Regions from separate parts of the Homo sapiens genome. Here region 2 is linked to region 1. Evidence: promoter capture Hi-C in human tissues and cell types (Jung and others, 2019). All regions are on one chromosome and are shown on one strand. The core of a region is centred on a gene start or on the middle of the fragment in contact, and the rest is flanking DNA. Distances in the headings are between cores, read along the strand shown.

The links. Contacts are between HindIII fragments. The study calls those that stand out against the background at their distance.
Region 2: a fragment that was not itself captured here is called in contact with the fragment with the promoter of NSMCE4A in region 1 in 1 of the 25 tissues and cell types used here (hippocampus).

The regions. Positions count from the first base shown.
Region 1 is chr10:121,972,225-121,977,067 of GRCh38, forward strand. NSMCE4A (NSE4A component of SMC5/6 complex) reads right to left here and starts at 2,993. Exons shown (of 11, transcript NM_017615.3): 1 at 2,650-2,993; 2 at 1,780-1,857. The coding sequence starts at 2,941. It overlaps LOC124902517 (a long non-coding RNA gene), which reads left to right and starts at 2,643. Exons shown (of 2, transcript XR_007062322.1): 1 at 2,643-3,931; 2 at 4,064-4,843. RefSeq lists a silencer at 2,395-3,194 and an enhancer at 2,632-3,427. The HindIII fragment of the contact is 19,014 bases long and covers 1-4,843 here.
Region 2 is chr10:121,178,160-121,183,002 of GRCh38, forward strand. LINC01153 (long intergenic non-protein coding RNA 1153) reads left to right here and starts at 378. Exons shown (of 2, transcript XR_246197.3): 1 at 378-813. All of the region lies in intron 1 of LOC124902515 (a long non-coding RNA gene), which reads right to left. The HindIII fragment of the contact is 4,166 bases long and covers 1-4,134 here.

The DNA.
Region 1 (4,843 bases), core at 1,743-4,242:
AGCTGGAGAATAGCTTTAACCTGGGGGGGGCAGAGGTTGCAGTGAGCCAAGATCATGCCACTGCACTCCAGCCTGGGCGACAGGTGTAGGTGTTCCCAGACTATTTTTCATACTCTCTGTTGCCTGCAGGGTCTGATTAAGCAACCCCCTCAGCCCCGCTGTTTCCTTTTGTTGATCCCTTCTTTATCTCCCATGAGTATCCTGTGCCTGCCTGCCCCACTCCCTTCCCCTTTCATTTATTTATTTATTTTACAAACTGAGACCATCAAATCCATGAATGCCAGCATCTGTTGTTTGCTGAGCAACTCCTAGGGCTCCAATGAGTGAATAATTTTGCTCTAAAATATTGCTTTAAATACTGGAAATAGCTGAGGGGGGAATGATGTGGGGATAAAGAACTGACTAGATGCACAGTAAATATCAAGGGAGTAATTGAGTCAAGTCAAGCAAGACTAACAGTAAGGAGACTGGGAGTCCAGGCTGCGAAGGGAAGACAAAACTTAAGAGGGTAGTAGAGGGATTTAACCAGGTGAAGGAGAAACACCCGGTTCCTGAAGGTTTTGATGAGAGTTAGCAAATGCGGTAGACTAAGATGGGGAATGGTAAGGAGGCTGTGGTCAAAGAAATTGGAGAGCATATATAAAGTGATAAAAGGAGACATTTAAAGAACTAGTCATCCTCAGCAATGACTAAAAATATACGTTCTAGTCCTTTAAGAATATGAGGAACCAGCCGGGGGCGGTGGCTCATGCCTGTAATCCCAGCACTGTGGGAGGCGGAGGCAGGTGGATTACCTGAGGTCAGGAGTTCGAGACCAGCCTGGCCAACATGGCGAAACCCGTCTCTACTAAAAATACAAAAATTAGCTGGGTGTGATGGAGCACACCTGTAATCCCAGCTACTCGGGACGCTGAGGTAGGAGAATTGCTTGAACCTGGGAGGTGGAGGTTGCAGTGAGCCGAGATTGTGCTACTGCACTCCAGCCTGGGCAACAGAGACTCCATCTCAAACCTCAAAAAAAAAAAAAAAAAGGATATATTTGGCTGCATTCTCCCCTATGTTCCCACAGACCCGTCAGAGAGGGCTGGAGGGGACAGTGGTCTGGGTAGTAGTCCTGTGGCTCTATGACCAAGTACCCACATCAGGGAGTACCCCTCTGTCACCAAGCAGACAGACAGCTGCTACCAATACCACTGCCTCTGCTTTCAATTCAAACTAAGGTTATTTTTTAAAGCACCCATGGCCTAGAGTTCAGTGCTCTGGGATCTCTCTCACTCACTCACTCACACACAACACACCCCAGACTGGAGACCAGCAGGTACACTTGCAGGCTTTGCCACCTCCATTGTGTTACACGTGGACCAATAGCAGGGAGCTGAGGAAGGCAAAACAGAATGGGACAGGAAAAGAAACAGGATTTCAGAGGCTAGCTCAGTTCTGTAATTCATCCACTCAACCAATGTATACTAGGGATACGGCAGTAAACACAAGAAAAAGAAACAAGATAACACATGTAACGTTCTCAAACTTGAAGAGGCAACAGAATCAACTGGGGGCTTAACACAGACTGCGGAACCTACCCCCAAATTTTCATGTAAAGCCCTTATTATATGGTAAGTGCATAATAAAAATGGCATTATTGCTATAATGAAACGGTTCCCGAACTGGGAAAGCACTATTACAAATGTGGGAATTGTTTTATGTCAATAATTTGGCGCTTATGTAACACTAATTAAAAGTATCATAAAACACGAAATAACATATAAAATAACAAATTACCTTCATTAAACAGAGTGTTAGCCTCTTCAAGGACCTCTGTTAATTTGTCACCGGCATTCAGTATGTCCTCACGGTTTTCTATTTTTAAAAATACAAACTTTGGGAAATTTGTTCAGCATTCACTAATAAGCAGTTGACAAGGTTATCACCTGCAACAGTAAAGCCAAGCCCCGGCCCCTGCGCTCTGAGTAATTACTTCGAACATCTTTATCTTTTTAACCAAAATGACCCGGAAAAGGAGAAAGGCCACCCTACCCTTTATGCAGCATGAATTTTAAAAGGAAACCCTAGCTCCCTCTAACCTTAACCCAAAGGGCTGGACTCCGGCTGCAGCCTCTGAGTGCTCCATAACTGAGTGGTTCTCAAACTTTGCAAGCAATACACACCATCACCTGGAGGGCCACTCCACAGTTGCGCGGACCCACCCAGAGATTCGAATTCCGCGGGTCCGGGTGGGGTCCGAGAACGTGCATTTGACAGCTCTCGCGTGCCGCTGCAGCTGCAGCTGCCGCTGCGAGGCCGGGAGCCCACGCCGAGGACTGCCGGGCGCAATCAAAGCACGCGGAGTCCGCGTCCTGCCTCTCCCCACTGGCTGGCTGGGCTCGGGCGAGTCCGCGAACGGCTCTGGCCTCCAGCTTTTCCAGCCCGCCACTCGGGGACCCGCGCCAAGGTCGTACGGCTCCAGCCACAAAGTGGGAGCACTTTGTCAACAATTTAAGGTGCGGCGAGGGGCTGGCACCCGGCGCGTCTCTACTAACGCCGCGCCGGGCCTCCGCCCGGCACCTGCCTCCGGTGCCCTCCCCCCGCGCCCGGCGCAGGGCGGGGACAGCGGCCCGTCCGGGCCCGCGCCGCCCGGAGGCGCCGCCTTACGTTGGACGGAGTTGATGAGCGCCCGGTACTGATGGCGGATCTGGCGGCACAGGCCTTGGTCGGCCTCCGCCTCCAAGCTGGCCGGGTCCATCATCTCGTCCCCGGAATCCGACGGCTCTGTGTCCTCCAGGCTCGGGCGCTCTGGGGCCTCTCTGCGCTCCCGCGCAGAGCCGCGGCGGGACCTGGGCGACAAAGGGGACCGCGAGCGGGAGCGGGAGCGGGTGCGATCCCGATGCGGGTCGCGGCCCCGGCCCCGGCCCTCTGGCCCGCGGCCGCTGCTGTCCCCAGACATAGCGCCAATTCACCGTGCAACTTCGGAACGGCGGAAGTTCGCGCCAGAAACTGAAACCCCTGCTCTGCGCCAGCGCCTGCTCCCGGCGGAACGCGGCTCCCGGGCCCGCGCGAGCGCACAGCGACGCCTGTGGCTGGAGGCCGGCGACGGGCCCGGCCGGGTCTCCAAGGCGCCTGGGGGGACCGCTGGGTGCACAAGAGGGGCCTGGCGGGGATCCTTTGTTCCCTTGACAAGAGGTGTAATGAGCTCTTACTCCACACTGCAGGGCTGTGAGAATCTTGGTTTTCTGCCCCTACTTTCCCACCCTCCTGGACCTGCATCTTCCCTAGGTCCCTTTGCCTGCCCAGGACACAGCCGCAGCCTGGCACCCACATGGGCACGCAGTCCATGTGTGTTGAACGAGCTTCCTGCTGTGGAGCAGGATGAGCGCGGGATGTGGAGTCCAGACGCGGTCTGCTGCTCACCTGCGACCTCAGTTTCCCTGTGCCATCATGGCTGGGGTCGGGGGGGTGGGGAACAGGGGTGGGTGGATGAATCAAATATTTATGTGCAGCTGGCAATACCATTTTTTGTGAGGATAGCAGAACAAATTAACAGGTAAACATCCTTCTAAATATCTACAACAGAATGTCACCAGAGCACCAGGGTTTTGTTCTAGGACCCGCTGCCCCCTCACAGAAATCACTGAGAAAACCATTATTACCAAGGAAGAAGGCTTTAGTAGGGTGCTGCACTCAGGGAGTTGGAAGCTCAGTCTCAAATCCATTGCCCTGACCAACTAAAATTAAGGGTTTATACAGTTGCAGGGAAGCAATGTAACAATGTATGGGAAAAGAGGAACTCGGGAGGGGGAAGGAAGCTATGGGGATGCATGAGGGGCTTGGCATCTCATTGTCTGGAATGCGGTGATATGGCGAGTTTCAGTTTTTTGATACTTTTTGAGAGGCTCTGGAGGTCCTTTCCTGAGGAAGGAACTCAGATAAAACAAAGGTAAGTTTCAACCTTAAGACTAGAAATGATAATTTCTAAGTTTATTAAAAAAATAGTAAACAGTCTATGGGATTGTTGGGTTGATTTTAATGACAGTCTATGTTCACATTTGATTTTTTTTTTTTTTTTAAGACCTTGCTCTGCCGAGGCTGGAGTACAGTGGCACTATCTTGGCTCACTGCAACCCCATCTCCTGACCTCAAGTGATCCGCCCACCTCGGCCTCCCTAAGTACTGGGATTACAAGCATGGGCCACCAGGCACAGCCTGATTCTGATTCTCAAACTAGAAGATTCTAAGAATACCTCCTGAAGGGCCCAAGAAAGATGGAATTATGTTAAGTATACTTTGAAAGATAAATGTATGAATTTCACTCCGTGCATTTTGGATTGTATTCGAGTATTGTTTCCCAAAAGTTGTCTTTGGTGCTAAGAACACATTTTCTCAAAAGACCAATATTATAAGTTGGGTTATTACACAACCTACAAATATTCCATTTTGTGCATCATGTCTACTAAACTTAAGTTAGGCACTGTTCATTGCTGTCCAACAGCTACTACCTCACCCATCCCTGCTTATCTGTATTTCCTGAAGGGGACGTGTGTGCCTACTTCCTTAGATGAAACGTGATCACTCTAACCAGGTCACGGTAATGTCATTCCCCTTCCCCAGTGACTGGTCAAGGGTCATGTGATGCAACCTGGGTCCGTGAGATGTGAAAGGGTTTCCCAACTGGATGGAATACAAACCTTCCTGAAAAGAAAACCCTTGACCCCCTACCCCCTTTGAGATGGCTGGCATAAGAAATGGGGAACCTGCCAATTAGCGGGCATAATGGTGCGTGTCTGTAATCCCAGCTAATCGGGAGGCTGAGGCAAGAGAACTGCTTGAAGCTGGGAGGTGGAGGTTGCAG
Region 2 (4,843 bases), core at 802-3,301, 800 kb before region 1:
TTTATAAATATATATATTTTTATATATCTATAGATATAATTATAGATCTATAAATATAGATATAGCAATTTATCTATAAATATCCCAATATGTATATCTACAATATAAGGATACTAAAAAATACCTCAATAATACTACCACACCTAATTCTTATATGGTTAAGAATTAACAATTCATTAGTATCTTAATATTGCCAAGTATCTAGACCATATTCCAGTGTTCACATTTCCTTGATTATCTCAAACATTTTTAAATTGTTTGTTCAAAGGTGGTTTCAAATTAGGTCCATACAATGAGACTAAATTGGTCGGTAGTCTGTAAAGGCTTTTTAAAATATATATGCTCCTCCTTATCTCTCTTTTTTATATCTTCGTAACTTTTTTTGTTGAAGAAACTGGGTCACTTATCGTGTAGAATTTCCCATAGTCTGCACTTCGCTGATTCCATCCCTGAGGAATTAACCTGTTCCTCTGGACCCTGTACTTCCCGTAGTTGGCAGTTGGATCTAGGCTCTGGATCAGATTCAAGTCTGATTGCTTTGTAAGACCACCTCATGAGTAGAGCTGTGTTCTTCCATCAGTCAGGTTGCTTCTCTGTTTGTGATGTTTGCAGCCATTGATGATCACTGCCTAGATCCATTAATTCATTAAGGTCTGCAAAAGGACCCTCTCTTCTCCACTCTGTCTCCCAGGTAGGAACCTCTGAAGCTGAGGACGTATTCTTGCTGGCTTCATTATTGTCATCATTCCTCTTCGTGACCTATTACACATTTCTGAAGAGAAACTCCTCTCACCAGCTCCTTTGTTTCCTAAGGTAGGGTTCTTATAGAAACAAGATAAGCTTTCCTCTTTCTTTCATTTACCAATTTTCAAACTAATGAGTTGTACCCTAGCATTCTGCAAGAGTGACCCATGATTTTCCTAGCACCATTTGGAACTCATGGATTAAAACATATTCGATGTGTTTCAATCCCTCTTAGTTTTTATCTTTATTGATGTTGAAATATTTGCCCTGAGGGAGGTTTTGCAAGTTGTCTCCTGAGTCTTTTTGACATGTTTCTTCTAGTCTTTGATAGTTTTTTGGCTTTCAGTTATGACAATTGCTCCAGGCTCACCTTGTTTATTTCCTCCCAGACCTGGAATCCTCCATCTTGCCAAGAAGCTTTGGTTCTGTCCAATAGAACCACAATCTGGGTGATAGGTGTTCCCATTGCTACTGGTTTGGTCATTCTTTCCAGGCCTTTTAAGCGGACAGACCTTGAGAAAAATCTATCAAGTTCATACTGATACTCCTCATTCAAAATCAAGACTGTAAGATTTTACCTAAATTCCTTGATCTTAATCTGCATCCACAAAAATCCCATTTTTCAGTGACACCAATATAATTATTCATTTGCTTTATCCCACACCATACTTAGAACAATAGCAGAATAATAATATAAGCATTAGCACCAAAATATGATTACTAAAAATAGTTTAATTTTTTTTTAAGTTCTTTTTATCCTTAGGGTATATACTCACCAGGGACATGCTGTCAAGTTATCTTATTTAAAAGTCACTTGGAGCAGTTCCTGTCTCTGCTTATGCCATCAGCTCAATCCAGAGTTAGGTTCATTTGTTTCATTTTATCATCAGCTTTTAGAGACTAGCTTTTTAAATTTTAGTGTTATAATTTGGTTTCACAATTATGTAAAACATTTGTATGATTCCAAAACCAAATTTGAAACTCAAAATGTAAGTAACAAGGCTAGCTTTCATCTCTGAACTCTCCACACTATTCCTTTTTTCCTCAAAAATAACTTATTTTAAAAATACATTTTATTCTTCCTTTTTAATACAAGCAAATCATATATGTGATTATATATTTATGTGTGTACATAATATATATATCATATATGTGATTATATACATGATTATATATGTGTGCCTATATGTATGTATATATAATCATACACACAGATACACACACATATATATTCCCTTTCTTTGATAAATAACAGCAGACTATTCTTTTTTCTGCCTTGGATTCACTTAACATGCCTTGGAAGTCACTCCACAGCTATCACAGGGTTCATCCTCATTTCTTTTCATAGCTGCATAGTACATACTCAATCATGTAGCTGTCCTATAGTTTATTTAACCTGTTCCTTACTGGTGGACATTTGGGTTGTTTTCAGTCATCTGCTCTTATAAAAAGTGCTGTGATGAATAGCCTGTGTATCTGTCTTTTCATATTTTTGCCAAGGTATCTTGGCGATTCCTAGAAGTGGCATTGCTGGGTCATAGGCTAAATGCCCATGTGGTTTTGCTAGATAGTGCCAGTCTCCTCCCTGGGATTGTCCCATTTCATATTCCTCCCAGAATTGAATGAGAGGGCCTGTTTCCCCATAGGTCTGCCAATACAGCATGTTGTCAACCTTTGGGGTTTTGACATCCGATAGGTGAGAAATGGTACGTTGGTATAGTTTTTATTTTACATTTATCTTATTATTAATGAAGTTGATTATCTTTTCATACTGTTAAGAGAGATGGCCGGGCATGGTGGCTCACACCTGTAATCCCAGCACCTTGGGAGGCCGAGGCAGGCAAATCACTTGAGGTCAGGAATTCGAGACCAGCCTGACCAACATGGTGAAAGCCCATCTCTACTAAAAATACAAAAATTAGCTGGGCATGGTGGTGGGTGCCTGTAAGCCCAGCTACTCGGGAGGCTGAGGCAGGAGAATTGCTTGAACCTGGGAGGTGGAGGTTGCAGTGAGCCAAGATCGCACCATTGCACTCTAGGCTGGGTGACAGAGTGAGACTCCATCTCAAAAAAAAAAAAAAAAAAAAAAAAAAAGAGAGCGACAGAGAGATATTTGGATTTCTTTTTCTGTCAATTATTTGCTTATATTTCTAACCCATTTTTCTACAGAAAGATTTGCCCTAAGGGGGCAAATATTTGAACATCAATAAATATACTATCCTTAGTATATTTTTCTACAGAATTGTTGTAGTTTTTCTCCTCCATTTTAAGGAGCTTTTTCAAATACATTAGGGCTATTAATAATTTGTCTCTAATATAAGCTGTGAATATTATTTTTCCTAGTTTGTCATTTGTCTTATCTTACTCATGGTGGTTTTTATTTTTTTGTTGTTGTTGATTTTTTTGTCACACGAAGTTTTTTTTATTTCAATACAACCAAATTTTTCAATCTTTTCCCTTACCATGTCTGGATTTGAGCCGTAATTCAGAAAGCTTCACAATCTCCAAGGATAGAAAGCCATTTGCCAATATTTTCTTATTTTTACAGTTTCAGTTTTTATATTTAAATCTCTTGTCTACTTGGAATTTAACCCAGTATATGGAGAAACAGGTCCGATTTTGTTTTTTTTCCAGTTGCTATCTACTTATCCCAACACCCCTTGCAGAGAAGTTCATTCTCCCACCAATTTGCGATGCCACCTTTCTCATCTACAAGTCTCCACGTGCAAGTGGGGCTATTTCTGGGTCTTCTACTTTGCTTTGTCAGTCTGCCTATTCACATGCCAGTATAACCTGTTTTGATAACAGAGGTTTTCCAGTATGTTTGGATGTCTGGTGGGACTTTTTTTTCTTATTGCACTTTCTTTTCAGAGTTTTCTTGGCTTTTTATTCATCCATTCTTCCAAACAAATTTGTCTGCCTTCCAAGTGGAATTTTTGCCAATTGCTCAATTTTCCAAAAACGAATTGACACCTGTTCGACTTCATTGACGACCCAAGTTGGCTGCTTGGTCACAGAGCCTGGAACATAGTAGGTGTTCAAAAAATGTCAATAGACGTGAAGTGCCTGGAGATCTTTGGCTGGAGGTTAGCATACCATCTCAACATCCCACAGCAAATGTTAATCCTAGATGATGATTCTACAAAGAGTTTAATCCCAATTACTTCAGTATAACTGAAAACAAGACTGATTAATAATACTTAAGAATTTTTTAAAAATAGAAAAATAATACCCTTCACATTGGTGTGCCTCCAATGAGGCAGTTTACTAGACTTTGAGGGACTCTTTTCACTCAGTGCTCTTTTAAATGTTTTGAATGTGTGTTACATGCATGGATTGTTTACATAGTCACTCAACAAATTTCATGTCATTCATTAATCCAAGTTACTGCATCTCAGTTAATTCAGGTGGGAAATTTCTTTCTCGTGTACTCTATGCATATGACATTTGGGACACTTGGCATCTGGTGAAGAGGGAACCACAGGCTTCTATCTGGGCTAGCCTGTGGGTGACCAGGTCTGGGCCCAGTATCTTGGCTTTTGCATTGTTTTGTATTTTTTAAGAACATAATGTCCTAGGAAAACAAGGGAAAGAACAGCTCCTTTCTTTAATAAATGATTCAAACGTTGGAAATGGGGAAAAGAAAACATGGCACAAAGGAGCATATTTTCCAGGTTGTGACTTTTCTACTGGAGAAGCCCATGTCAACCAACACAGCCTTGGTTAAGCGTAACCTGCCCTGGTTCTACTGGGCTAATCTGGTGTGCTGGGTTTGGATAATGGACCTGTGTCAAGTGAAGCCAAGAAAATCCAGACTCACTTAAAGGTCCAAATGGAAACGAGAAGTCTCGGAAGCCTCCTCTGTGGATATGCATCTTACCAATAGACGGACTCCTAGGTTTGACCCTGAGCAATCCTCCTCATAAAACAGAAGGACTCAGAGATCAGCAGATGTGTCAAAGGTCCACTGATGGTCTGGGGGTGCTTAGTACTCATCTCACCAATGTATATTCAGACTTAGCAAAATGCTTTTAGTGGAGACCCAGATTGAAACCCTGACTCAGTTTACTAGCTGCAGAAACTTGAGCCTATCTGAGAC